Regions from separate parts of the Homo sapiens genome. Here region 2 is linked to region 1. Evidence: promoter capture Hi-C in human tissues and cell types (Jung and others, 2019). All regions are on one chromosome and are shown on one strand. The core of a region is centred on a gene start or on the middle of the fragment in contact, and the rest is flanking DNA. Distances in the headings are between cores, read along the strand shown. Region 1 holds the start of PRR20A (proline rich 20A). Region 2 has its middle 220 kb from the start of PRR20E.

What was found. The method cuts DNA at HindIII sites, captures the fragments that hold promoters and counts their contacts. A contact is called where the count stands out against the background at its distance.
Region 2: a fragment that was not itself captured here is called in contact with the fragment with the promoter of PRR20A in region 1 in 4 of the 25 tissues and cell types used here (dorsolateral prefrontal cortex, mesenchymal stem cells, ovary and 1 more).

The regions. Positions count from the first base shown.
Region 1 is chr13:57,136,506-57,143,890 of GRCh38, forward strand. It overlaps PRR20A (proline rich 20A), which reads left to right and starts at 4,413. Exons shown (of 3, transcript NM_198441.2): 1 at 4,413-4,626; 2 at 4,781-4,851; 3 at 5,873-7,385. The coding sequence starts at 4,800. The coding sequence ends at 6,486. LOC124903235 (a long non-coding RNA gene) reads right to left here and starts at 1,233. Exons shown (of 2, transcript XR_007063920.1): 1 at 1,166-1,233; 2 at 582-675. The HindIII fragment of the contact is 47,953 bases long and covers 1-7,385 here.
Region 2 is chr13:57,379,833-57,387,217 of GRCh38, forward strand. No RefSeq gene overlaps it. Among named protein-coding and RNA genes, the nearest start is that of PRR20E, 220 kb to the left of the region's middle. The HindIII fragment of the contact is 3,980 bases long and covers 2,245-6,224 here.

The DNA of each region.
Region 1 (7,385 bases), core at 3,163-5,662:
AACTGAGTAATACCATAATATTACAATACAAGCACTGAATGTTCAGTTCTATTTAAAAGCTTGAACAACCTGAAATTATGCCCATACATTTTTGTTGTTGTTGTTGTTTTTGGCCAATATTTCAAAAGACCTTTAAGGGGTATTCATATATGGAGGTAAAATAAAATAAATTAATCTTTTAGACAATAAATGCCATTTGAAAAACTGAAATAATCAAAAAATTATATCTGGTAAATTTTTTAATGGTTTATACTTGATTATAATCTGGTCTTTACTGTAGAGAATAATAAAGAGTTTAAGTTATATATTTGTTTTATCAACTTGAATATATTATTATTTATTTCACAACTGGGTTATGTTACTTTGGAGAATTTGCTTTTTTTTGATATTGACTTGAGTTTTCCTCCAATTATTTATCAGATTATTTATCTTCATTATAAATTACATAATGAACACATATAAACAACATTGATACACTGCTCTTAATGTGATAGTAAACAAAATATCATCTGTCATGTTTCCTGAAAAAGAAGTCAATTTTAAAATTAGAATCTTCTGACAATAAGAAGAAATGCAATAAATCTCTTAACACATCAATTAAAGTTTTACTCTTTTCTCATGGAGTTGAGAATTTGTCTTCATTATGGAGTTTCTCCTATCCTTCAAAGTTGAGTCCTAGAAAAAAAAAATGTCTTAAGAAATACTTCCTTTTTTAAAAATTTGGCTTTTGCTTTCTGAATCACGGTATTGGCCAACTCAGCATTTTGATATTTATTGAAAGGCCTTTATAAGGCAATTATTGCCTTTGGCTTGCCTTTCATATTCATTTTACTATAATTTTATGCTTCTCCAAGATCTCGTAATGTAAATCAGTGTAGTGAATATTGCTAGCATTAACATCAAACAAATTTTTGTAGTATAACATTTTCACATTCTTATCAGAAACAATGCTAGTTAGTTGCATTTTAAAATCTTGTTAAACAGTTACAATCATTTAAATGCATTTACCTGAGTAAATATATCTAACAGCTAATGCCTATTCAAGCAAATATATCTCAATAAAAGTGTCTGTAATTCTATTTATTTGTACATTTATTTTATCTCTTCTGTGTTTTTGTAACGAAGCCTGTATTTCATAAAAATCACAAGACTTTGTTTTACTTACTTTCTTTCTCTTCGTTCTTTTCTTTCTCCATGCATGCTTGCTTGCATGTAGTAGTTTCAGTAGGGAGTAGTCACTAGCAATTGATTAACTTCACATCCCAACCTCCAAGCACAGCCCATAGGATTCATAAACTTGTTTGTCTTTCAAAGAACAATGAACCTTAGACCATGCAGACCTCTTTGATGGCAACTAGAAGTCGGATCAGGCCAAAGGACGCAAACAGCTTTGATTATAAGGGCATCTCACCCCTCACATACATACCTTACTCATAAAATCCACCAAATATGTTCAAAGACAGGTAGGATTTGAGAGATTTCTCTCTCCTGCCCTCTTGTTTTGGCCAAATTGAATAAAACTCTCTCTGCTCCTAGGAGCTGAGGTGTCAGTTTTTGGTTTACTATGTATCAGGAACATTAACCTAAATTGGGGGATTCTACAACATTTTGAACCAAGTATATGTGTTTCCCAAAATTGTTTATTACTTCATAATTTTTCTATTCAGACAGTGATGATTGCTAAAAACTAAGGTGTCCCCAAGTGCAACATTGTTTCTAGATCATAAACCCAATGTGAAGCAGAATAGTATGTGTTTTGCTCAATATTTTACCCCTAGTCCCTAGACACTGCTTAGCCTGTAGTCATTAAAGGGACATCAGTGGAAGGACACCAACAACAACAACAACAAAAAAAAAAAAAAAAAAAAAAAAGAGGAAGAAGAAGAAGGAGGAAAGAAGGAAAGCAGAAAGGTGAGGATGAGCCAGGTTAGATATTGGGTTGTCAGTCAATTAATACAATCATGTCTAACACTTCTAAAAACACAGAAAGAAAATTTACAAGTCTCAACATTAGGTACTATTGCTCATTTTCTCTTTGACCTGCATGAAATTAAGAACTTGTTAAAATTCTTGGGATCTTAATTCAGACACAAAATATATAGATTTATCAAGTATATATGAAATACCGTATAGTCTTCCATGCCATCTTCACTACCCCATCCACCTTATCCATCATGTCTTCCACCTCCCAACTCTGTGTGTGCCCTTGCATCCCCTGAATTAAGAACGTGCTATCTCTGGAGGGATATTCACAGGATAGAGGATTCCTTCCAAGCAGGAAACTGAATGTTGCATGAGGAACACTTCTCGCCACTGATACAAAAGTTGAAGGATTGTGGGATGGGTGGAGCAGGGGTGAGGGAATTTTTTTCTTTAATTTTTGTTTAAATTATGCTTTAAGTTCTGGGATACATGTGCAGAACGTGCAGCTTTGTTACATAGGTATAAAGGTGCCATGATGTTTTGCTGCACCCATTAACCCATCATCTACATTAGGTATTTCTCCTAATAGTCTCCCTCCCCTAGATTCCCAGTCCCTCACAGACCCCAGTGTGTGATATTCCCCTCCCTGTGTCTATGTATTCACATTGTTCGACGCCCACTTATGAGTGAGCACATGTGATATTTGGTTTTCTTTTCCTGTGTTAGTTTGCTGAGATGGGAGGTTGACAAAGGGACACGGAAGCCAACTAAAGGAGCTCCCGGTGGCCAAAGCTGGAAACATTGAGTAACAAAGTAATTACCTAAATAATTAATAATTAAATAGTTAAGTAAAATACTTGACAAAATAATTAGTTCAATTATTAAATAATTCATCCCCTGAAGTACTGGAGTGTAAACCAAAGCATACAATAGGTGTCCATAAGTCCATACGGATATAAATAAGTGATTAAATAAACAAACATGTGGGGGAGAATGGGAAAATCCTCCACACAGGAGAACTCCACAGAACTTAGGTAGCTATTCCCCTGCAAGGAGATAAAGCAAAACTTCCCTTTTCTTTACGTATAGGCTACAGGTAGCGACTTCCAGAAAGCACAGTAGAGAAAGAGGTGGGAAAATCACTTTATGGTGGAGAAACCTAATCAACACTGCCCCAGCCCGGTGACCAGGACTAATAGCAGCAGTGATAAGCCGGCTTGATGGTGTGTACTCTAGACAGGATGGGATGGGAATGGCGCTTTCCCGCTGCAATCTTCCTGACAAAAACATATAATTCCAGTCAGATCACAAGGAATACATCACACGAACTTCAGGAGAGGACATCCCACAATATATCTGATCAGTATTCAAAGTGTCAGAGTCATCAAAAACAAGGCAAGTGTGAGAAACCGTCGCAGCCAAGGGGAACCGTGACGAGTTGTAAGGTGGTACCCTGGATGGGGTCTTGGGACAGAAAAGGTATGTGAGGTGAAAGCATAGCAAAACCTCACTTCAACAGGAAATACAACCCAAAAAAGTAATTGGCCCGGCATGGTGGCTTGCGCCTGGGGTCCCAGCGACTCGGGAGGTTGAGCGGGACGGACGGCTTGAGCTCAGGCCTTCCAAACAAGCCTGGGCACATAGCGAAAACTCGTCTCTCCAAAAAAATCCGAAAATTATCCCGATGTGGTGGCGCTCACCTGTAGTCCAGCTACTCCGGAGGCCGAGACAGGAGAATCACTTGAACTGATTCTCCTATCTCAGCCACCCCCCCCCAACCCCCCCAAGTAGCCGCAGCGAGCCGAGATGGCACCGCTGCACTCCAGCCTGGGCTACAGAGCGAGAACCAGTCTCTGTAAAAAACACAAGGATGCAAACCAACCAAATAACCCACTGTGGGATCCCCTCCAGCGTCCTGCTGTGTTTCCCGCTGTCTTCCTCCACCCGTGAGTGCACCCACAGCAATAAAAGCCAGCGGTGTGGGTCTCACACGCATCTCCAGCCCCGTCTCACACGCACCACCTCCGGGCCTGGACTTGGCCTCCCGTCCATTCCCAGAATGTGCCGGGCTCCCTTCCAGTCCGGGCCTCAGCACACTCTCTTCACTCCCCTTCCTCCCTCCCTGCCTCTCCCAACCCGGTTCAGGATGACTAATTTCAAACGTTATGTTCCAGATTTCAGCCCAGATATCCCCGCTTTGGATGCTTTCCTTGACCATGCTCAGATCTAAGCTAATCGCATCTTCCTGTCAGCCGCTTTCAGGGCACCACACCTCATTGTGCTGACACTCAGAGGTCATTATGCAATTTTTTTTCCTCGATGATTAGATTAATCAATCAACCACGGACGTCTAGAAATGGCGGCATCTCAGAAGGGCCCCCATTTGACTGGCAGGGGACTGGCCCAATGCGCCTCGCAAGCCCAGCCAGGCCCGCCCCAGCCGGCCCCCCTCTGACGACGCCTGTCCCTTACGCGACTGCCTTGCTGCCATATAAGAGGGACGGCGCTCGGCCTCCAGCAGTCGGCTTTCTGCTGGGCTCGGAGCCAGAACCTGCTGCGTGCTCCCTCCAGACTCCCTGGCTGCGGGTGGACTACCTCAGAGCTACAGCGGTGAACCTGTGGACACCTCCGACTCCTCGGGCCTCTCTTCGTCGAAGAGTCTCCTAATTTTCAGATCTCCGGAGCCAGCTGTGGGAAGATCAGGTGTGTGTCTGGGGGTCCCGGAGGCGTGGACGGATCTCGGGTGGGTGCAGTTGGGGACAGAATCCTCATTCCCCTAGAAAGGCCACGGCCATCCCCCTGCCTTGTCACCTCTGTCTTCCTAAATCCGTTCTTGCTCTCTTGTTTTTCTCCCCAGCCCCTCCCGCCGATTGCTCATGGAGGAACCAAGGCCTTCGAAGCGACTTCGCTCCATGGCCCCTAATCAAGGTACATCAAACGCCTGCCACTCCTCTCTTTTTAATTTCGTCTGTTCCCCAATTCTTCCCCAATGGTTGACACTCAAACTCAATCAAGCATTCTCTGTTTCACCTTCTCCTAGCCTGCCTCAACCTGGGCTGCTTGTTGGAAGTCAGCTCCCGGGTTCCACATCATCTGGGAAATTCCTTTCCCTCTTCCGAACCGTAATCCCATTTCCCAAATCTGAGATTTGCTGTTGTTGTCGCTGTTTCCTTCTGTTTAGTTTTGTATTACTGTTTCTCCGTAGCAGAGCGAGTCCTCACGCTACGTCTTGATCTATGATAAACCGGTACTTCCACCTTGTTCTTTCCCGGAGGAGTTGGAATTTTCCGGCTGTTGCCACGTTGTTCTCCAAAACTTTTCCCTTCATACGCTGAGTGTCCTAAATCTTTTAATCTTGTCTAGTTTGACAGATGCATAACAATAAAGCATCCACTGAAAGGAAATTCTTTAACATCTTGCTTGTCTGAAACATCTTCATTCTCCCCTCCCAGATTCTTCAGCGAAACTTCGGTTGGACAGGAAATTTTAGGTGGGAAATTCATTTCCCTTGAAATTTCGAAGACATTTTCTGTTATGTTCTAGACTGAACTGCTGCTTTTGAGATGTCTGACTTTTGAGACATGTGGAATCCTAGCCCTTTCCATGTGACTTTTCCTTTCTCTGTCTCCCGCTCTCTAGAATCTGTTAGAATCTTCTCTTTTTCCTCAGCACTCTGAAATTTTCTGGTGAAATGTCTCAGCCACAGCATACCTCTAATTCTCTTATATTTCATCCTTCTTTCCATCATTTTAGGTTTTTGCTTTGTTCTGTGGGAGACCTTCTCAACTTCATTCTCCAACTTCCGTGGAGAGTTTTGTTTCTTCTCTCACAATTTTAACTTCAGAAATCCCTCTTTTCTCTGAGTATTTATTTGTAAAAGTATCCTATAACTGCTTGACGGGTGAAGTTCCTTCTGTCTCTCTCTGCTCACGCTCCGCTTCTCTTTTAGCCTCAGGTGGGCCTCCTCCAGAGCCAGGCTGCTGTGTTGCGGACCCTGAAGGCTCCGTGGAAGCAGATGGGCCCGCACAGCCAGCCCAACCCGCAAAACCCATCGCTTACGTGAAACCCTTCAGACGGCAGCCCCCAGCTCGCCCAGAGTCACCCCCTCCTGCAGAGAGAGGCCGGCGCCGGGGAGGAAGCCGGCGGCCAGGGCGAGGCCGTGGCAGAAGGGCTGGGCCCCGCGGGGACGCTGGCCAGAGACAGGGGGCAGAAGGCTTGATGGCACCGGACGTGCACATCCAACTGGACCACCATGGAGAGCCAGGCCACCAGGGGGAACCGGAAATCACGGAGACCGCAGCCTTCTCCCTTTCTGAAACAGGTCCTCCGCCTGGAACTGTGCAGGAAGGCCCTGGCCCCGACGTGGCGCAACCTGAGCTGGGGTTTCAGGAGCCGCCCGCTGCTCCTGGGCCTCAGGCTGTTGACTGGCAACCCGTCTTGACCCTCTATCCCTGCATCGGGTTTAGGGCTCTGGGTGACTCAGCGGTTTTACAAGTCATTCAAACCCCCCAGGGCACCTACGTGCAAGGGGTCCCAGTGTTCCTCACCGACATTGCGTATTGACCACTATCTGCCACCCACGTTGTTCCCAGCCTCCCTTCCTTCCACCTGGACGTTCCCCCCAGCCCCACTTCTGCTCCACTCCTCCCCCGACTGGACCTGAAGCCTGAGCTTCCCCTGAACTTGGAGTACGCAACTTACAACATGCAAGCTGCCAAACACCCTTTCTGTACAAGGCGATTGGAATGGAACTGTCATGTACAGTGAAAGTACACGTCACGTTTTTCAGCCAAGAAGAAGCCAACCCAGACAACCTGGAAGAAGTGGGATGCAACAAGGATCACTAAGCATGGAAATTAGGAAACTGTATTCTTAAGTCCAGAGAAGTACGATTCTGGAAAAAGGATTGATGACCTAGAATTAAAATTCCAGAAGACACTCATATAGACATGTGGGACATGCGAAAACTCAGAAGGAGCTAGAAGTTACTAAAGTGCTTCTCTAGTGCCTGGAGACGATAGACTGGCTGAATATAAGAGCAATAAAAATCTAGACTGACACATTTTTAAGTCTCAACGTGGGTACCCTTTGGGAACCACTAAATGAATTGGAATAGAAGGTAAAATTTCAAACAGATTGAGGAAAAAGGGGATCAAAGGACATGTGACGAATCAGACAAAAGGTGTTGGGGTGGGGGGGGGGGCGGTTAACGGAAGCAAGGAGAGTGCATGACTCACTGGAACCGCTAAACCAGGAATCAGTAATTTGACGGCAGTGTCCTTGGCTTCCTCCTGGCTTTAATGGGAATATTTTGAATGTTTCACCATTAACCAAGATGTTGGCTGTAGGTGTCTCTTAGATGTTTAAGTTGAGTTAGTTCCCATCTTTTCAGAGTTTGATAAATGTTGTATTATGAACTTTTGTATTTTGTATTTTATTAGGTAGGCTGTTGTTGGCTGGTT
Region 2 (7,385 bases), core at 2,985-5,484, 240 kb after region 1:
AATCTCTAGATTGCCTTGGAGAATACTGGCATCTTAAGATATTAAATTCTCCAGTCCATGAATATGGAATATCTTTCCATTTATTTGTGTTTTCTTTAATTTATTTTAACAAATTTTTGTAGGTTTTAGGGGTATTTCAGCATATTGATTAAATTTATTTGTAAGAGGTATTTTGTTTTGTTTTCTTTTGTTTTAAATCCTCTGGACTCTGTTGTATGTGGAATTGTTTTCTTAATTTACTTTTCAGATCATCCATTGCAGGTGTAGCAAAACACAACTGACTTTTATGTTTTGATTTTGTACCCTGTAACTTTACTGAATTTGTTTATTAGCTCTAGCAGGTTTTTTGTGTGCATACTCTGTAGGTTTTACGGTATACACAATCATGTCGTCTACACATAGAGAGTTTTACATCATCCTTTCAATTTTGATGCCTTTTTATTTGTGCCTCATTGCTCTGCTAAGACTTCCAGCACAATGAATAGCAGGGATGAAAGCAGGAATCCTTGTATTGTACTTGCTCTTAGCTTTCAGTCTTAAACCATTAAAAATTATGTTAGCTATGAAAGTTTTATATATGCCCTTTATTAAGAAAGTTTCCATCTATTTCTAGTTTGATTAGTGTTTTAATGATAAAAAGATGTTGATTTTTTTCAAATATTTTTTCAGCATTTATTAAAATAATCATGGGTCTCCTGCCTTACTTTATTCTCTTAATGTGATACAGTACATTGATTCATTTTCTTATGTTCAACCAACTTTACATTCTTAGGGTAAATCCACTTGGTCATGGTGTATAGCACTTTTAATGTGCTGTTGAATTCATCTTGCTAGATTTGTTGTCGGTGGTGGTGGTGTTGCTGTGGCTGTTGCTGAGTATTTTGTGCCTACATTCATTAAAAAATATATTGGTCTGTAGTTTTCTTAGTTTCTGGTATATTTTTCTGACTTTGGTATCAGAGTAATGTTGGCCTCACAGAAGAGCTTGGAAGTTTATTCCTCTTATATACTTTTGAAAGAGTATGAATACGATGGATGTTAGTTATTCTCTAAAGATTTGCTAAAATTCAAGAGTGAAGCCGTCTTATCCTTTTCTTTCTAAGAAGTTTTTGATTACCAATTTAATCACTTTATTTATTATAGGTCTGTTAAGATTTCCTATGTCTTTTTGTGTTCAATTTGGTATTTTTTTTGTTTCTAGAAATAGGTCCATTTTATCTAAATTATTTAATTTGTTTGGTTTGCAATTGCGAATATTTTTCTCTTATAATCCTCTTAATTTCTGTAAAGTTTCCAGTAATGGCCCCATTTTTATTCTTGACTTTATTTTCATTTACTCTCATTTTTTTCTTAGTCAGTATAGCTAAAAATTTGTCAAAGTGGTTGATCTTATCAAAAAAGCTTCTTGATTGGGTGTAGTTTCCTCTCTGTTTTCTTTTTTAAAGGGAAAATTTTGGCTTGCTAATTTGAGGTCATTCTTTTTCTTCTTAAATATAGGTATTTACAGCTCAGAGAATAAATTACTCTCTGAGCACTACTTTAGCTGTATCCAACAAGTCTTGGTATGTTATGCTTTTTTTTTCTTTCATCTCACTGTATTTTCTAAGTTTTTTCTTGTGAGTTATTTTCTGCCCCATGGGTTTTTTAAGAAATATTCTGATGAATTTCCATATAATTATAAATTTTCCAAAATTTCTTCTGCCTTGATTTCTAATTTAATCCCACTGTTTTCAGAGAAGATTCTCTGTAAGAATGGAATTCCTTAACCTAACCTTGTGTAGGCTTGTTTTGTAGTCTATCCTGGCAAATGTCCATTTGTGCTTGACGAGAAAAAAAAGTGTCATCTTCTCTTGTTCAAAAAGTGGCCCATAGATGTCTGTTAGGAGATTTGGTTTATAGTGTCATCCAGGTCTTCTAATTCCTTGTTGATCTGCTTACCTAGGTATTGTATCCATTATTGAAAATGGAGTAGTTAAGTGTCCAACTATTATTGTTTAATGGCCATATCTTCCTTTTATTTTGCCAGTTTTTGTTTCATGTATTGGCTGTATTCTTAGGTGCATTTTTTTTTTTTTTGGAATTGTTAGACCTGTTTGATGAGTCGGCCCTCTTATTATTTTAAAAGATCTTATAAATTTCTTATATTAAAGTCTATTCTGTCTAGTATTTACATAGCCATTCTGACTATCTGTTGATGATAAATTAAGAATGCATATATAAATCATTGAAAGCAACCAATAAAATAATAAAATAAAAAAGGTTGCCAGGAAATATAGCAACACTATAGAATAACTGGAATGTAATAATTAAAATAATACATTAACCAAGGTATTAACAGGAAAGAAGAGACATAGAAAGAAAAAAATGTGACCGATAGAGATTAACTTGCCAAATAATGTAACTAACTCAACTATAACAATAATTACGTTAAATTTAAGTAAAATATATCTTTGCTACTTAATTGAAATATTTATTACTTATATGTTATATAGATTATATAAATTTATATAATCTAATTATAATTATAAATTTCTATAATCTATATAACATTTAATATAGAATAATTTATACAGTATATAAATATATATTCTAAGTAATACGTATTTCAATCAAATGGCAAAGATATATTTTATTTAATATACTTACATAAGTAAAAAAAGTATAAGACTGCATAAGAAATATACTTATATATTCTAAGTAATCTATATTTCAATCAAATGGCAAAGATTGTCAGAATGGACTAAAAGCAAGAAGGCTGTCTACAAGCCAGGAAGAAGGCTCTTACCAGTAGTCAAATCTGCCAACACCTTCGTCTTTGACTTCCCAGGCCCCAAATATGTGAGAAATAAATGTCTGCTGTTTAAGTTAGTCTATAGCACTTTGTTACAGAAGCCCAAACTGACTAAGACAGGGCTTATCCCAGGAATTCAAGGCTGGTTTATGATTCAAATACCACTCAATCAAATTTGCCATATTTGTAGAATAAAATACCAAAAATAAGTTTATTCTAACAGAGGCAGTAAAATAATGTGAAAAAGATATGAAACATGTTAGATGTCTTAGAAAACTAGGCAAATATAAAAGAAGCTTGTTCAATATGATAACAAAATATAAACAGCATCTAACATCGTATTTAAATACTCTAATGGTCAATTTTATATGTCAACTTGGCTAGACTATGGTTTACAGTTGTTTGCTCAATACCATTCTAGATATAAGTGTGAAGGTATTTATCATATGTAATTAACATTTAAATCAGTAGACTTTGAGTGAAGCAGACTACTTACACTCCATAATATGGGTGGGTCTCATTCAATTAGTTGAAATTCGTAGGAACTATGACAGAGGTTTCCCAAAGCAAGGAATTGGCCTCAAGGCTTCAGTATTAAATCTTACCTGAATTTCCAGCCTGCTGGCTTGCCCTAGAATTTCAGACTTCCTAGACCCATAATCACATGAGACAATTCCTTAAAATATCAATGTCGCTCTCTCTCTATATATATATATGTACATATATGTGTGTGTGTGTGTGTGTGTGTGTGTTTGTGTGTGCATTTCCTAATAGTTCTCTGGTGTATCTTCTCTTATGCAATAGTGAAATACCAAAAGGTGTTTTTTGTTTTTTTTTTTCTGAGATAAAGAAGCAAATAAGAATGTTTCCTGTTTCTCTTTTTTCATTTAACTGTCTACTTTGGCTCTTAGAAGTGTAATAAGGAAAGTTTTTTTAAAAAGGCATACAGATTGGAAAAGAAGTGGTAAAACTTTCCTTATGCACAGATTATACAATTATCTATTACAGCAAAGTTATTTAATGTGCTTCTATAACAAGAAGCACATTAAATATCTAGTAATGACATTTAAAAAATAAAATGGAGGTGAAATTAACTTGATAAGATACTTTACTTAATGCAATATATCCAAAATACATCTCATCTTAAAATGTTTTAATCATTTTATCTTACTGTCTTTAAAATCTAATGTATATTTTACACTTAGAGTGCATCTCAATTTGGACTAGCCCTATTACAATTGGTCAGCAGCCACATGTGGCTGAATGGCTGCAGTATTGTGCAATTCAGTGTTTGAAAATTCTAACAAGTTTGAAAAACAACTATATAAACTAATAATTAAATTTGGTAAGCTCACTGCATACAAAGTGAACAAGACATTTGCTGGACTGCAAATTCATTTAATTAAGCAAGCTTTCTCTTGAATTCCAACTTGGAGAATTGCAAATGTATGATATCAGTTTCTTTAATTTTATAGTTTGTCAAAATGCGTTTCTTTCTTTCTTTGAAATATATTTCATTTTGGGCCAGTAAGATGAGGGATTTACTAGCTTCCTCTGATTCTGTGTTACATGTTAGTGGCTAACAGATTAATACTTAACCAAGATACTGAGTGGGATAATAGTACTCAATATAAATGAGTCTCATGTCAACTTTCTCCACTAATTATCCACACAAAATCATAAATCACTTAGAATCTTTTACAACTACTCAATAAAACATTCTCTAAGAGATAATATACCAAAAAAGTAGTAATATTTCAGGTTTTAAAAAGAACTATATGTAGAGTATATTTATCAGAGTAAATGGATTCTGTATCTGAACCAATAGGGACAGAAGGTACGTAGAAATCATGAAAAGATACGTAGAAAGCATGAAAAGTCCTGAGAACTATAACTTAATATTTTCATAATGCAGTTACTATATTTTTGATATATGAAATATTTTATATTTGTCTAGATAAAATTTATTCACAAAACACTTATAGAATTAATTTTACTTAAATGAGATAAAAATGTATTGTTCTACATCAGACAAGAAGAAATTCAAAAATGGTAAATTCAACTTTTACGCAACTTATAAGTAACTGAGATAATCTCAAAGAACACTTTCAGATCAGTTTTTTTCAAAGCACCAAATTTGCAATTATTTATTAACATTCCAAAACAAGTGATTTTGTGTTTAAATGGCATATATATATAGAAAATACCCATTTTCTTTTATTGGAATATGTCTGTGCATTTAAAAAGCTAAAATGAATTTTGCTAATTTTGCTTTTTAATTTTTGTGTGTACATAGTAAGTTTATGTATTTATGGGACATATGAGATATGTTGATATAAGAACACAATGTATAATAATCACGTGTATCTTAAATCTGCGAAAGAGAAGTATGCAATATTTCCCAGGCTTATTTTACAAAAATGTTTTTTGGCTAAATCCTTATGAAATTCCATAGGAACACTGTTTATCTTAACAAATGTTTGACAAAATTGCCTACAACATTTTCTTTTATTCTTTAAAGAATTTAGAATACATTATTTATTTATATATATACATATATATACACATATATACATATATATACACACACATATATATACATATATATATTTGAGATGAAGTTTCACTCTTGTTGCCCAGGCTGGAGTACAATGGTGTGATCTCAGCTCACTGCAACCTCTGCCTCGCAGGTTCAAGTGATTCTCCTGCTTCAGCCCCCTGAGTAGCTGGGATTACAGGTATGCGCCACCATGCCTGGCTAATTTTTTTTTTTTTTTTTTTTGTACTTTGAGTAGAGATGGGGTTTTTCCATATTGGTCAGGCTGGTCTCGAACTCCCGACCTCAGTTGATCCGCCCATCTTGGCCTCCCAAAGTGCTAGGATTATAAGCGTGAGCCACCGCGCCCAGCCTATTTATATGTTTTATGGAGACATATATATATATTATATATATTATATATATAATATATATATTATATATATTTTATATATATATATATATTATATATATTATATATATATATATATGCATATACTCATAAAAGTTATAAAGTATCTTCAGTTTTTTAGTTTAAAAATTTGGACCAAATTAACCAAGCAAAATATGTCGGCAGTCTATGTGCAATATTTGCAAAATATACTAAAATAAATAAAAATATTGAGCAAAAAATTTTAGCCAAATTTAAAATAAAATTTCAACAGTTACAATATTTTTATAAATAGACCATTTAACAGATTTTTTTTTTAGTATTTCCATCTGACATTTTTGCTGTTTATGTTGTATTTAGACTTTTTCCCATCTGAGCAGTTCAAAGGCCATTTTTATTAAGCTTCCAAAAAATAATCAGTTTGATTTTCAACACAGACTCCACATAAGTAAGCTGGATATTGATGTTTTACAGTTTATTGATACACTATTTTAGTTCAAAAGAAAATTAATCAGACATAAACATTGTAATTGCTTAATAAAATTCAATTATTCAGGTATCTTGGGAAGGCTATCATGTTTTAATAACTAAATAAATAAAATTAGATCAAGCTTCTTTGACATACTTGGAACTTTTTCCTCCATAGAACTAACCAAAATAGTACATGTAATTATAATGATCCTTTCAGAACAGAAAAAACATTCACAATTTCAGAAAATGGTTTTAAACACATGGGGTTCCATCTGCTACCTGCTCCACTTTTAAAGTGCAAAGCCTATCTCATGGTAGCATTCCTCAAGATGCATTTGGAGTCTGAGACAAACCCACATCTGCCAGCTCTGGAACAAGTAGGTAGATTCCTCTATAGACCATGTATTGTCTTCCCTGGCCATACTACTGTCCCATCTCCACAATAAAATCTGCTTTAATAGCTTGCCACAAATTACTTAATCATACTTATCTTTATTACTTTGGAATAAAGTATCAATATCCAGGAGGCTCCTCTAAAATGCAAATTTATTACCTGAAATATTCACTTAGTGTCCTACTTGACACCACTCAGTATTTTAGACTAGCATATCAATTCTTAAATTTGTTTAGGAGTTGTTTGGACCCTTAAAACTTACAAAGGTTCCCAACACAAGCTTTTGCTTATGTGGTATATAGCTATTTATATTTAATATTCGATATTAAAACTAATAAGTTTGTAAATATTTATGTACTAATCTTAAAATGGCAATAACAAGCCCATATATAAACATAAATGCCATATTTTTAATGAAAAAATATTTTTTCAAAAAAAAGATAAGAGTGTCACTGCTTTACATTTTTGTAAATTTCTTTATGTCTGGATTAAAGAAGACAAATAAATTGTCATATAAGCTCTGATTTCAACCTATTATACTGTTATCACATCATGTTGACTTTAAAAAACACCAAACAATCTGAGTATTGTAAAAATAGTTTTGAATCAATGTATACCCTGGAAGTATTGTCTGGAGACTCCTGGGACCCACCCCCCAGACCGTTCCACAGTGGATGTCAAGTCAAACTGTCTGGTCAAACCCATAACAACGGTCCTGGACAGAAGGACCTGAAGATGTCAGTGGACAGCTGGGAAGATGTAGTGAGAAGAACCGAGGTTTTGAAAAGCTCCTAAGCCAAAC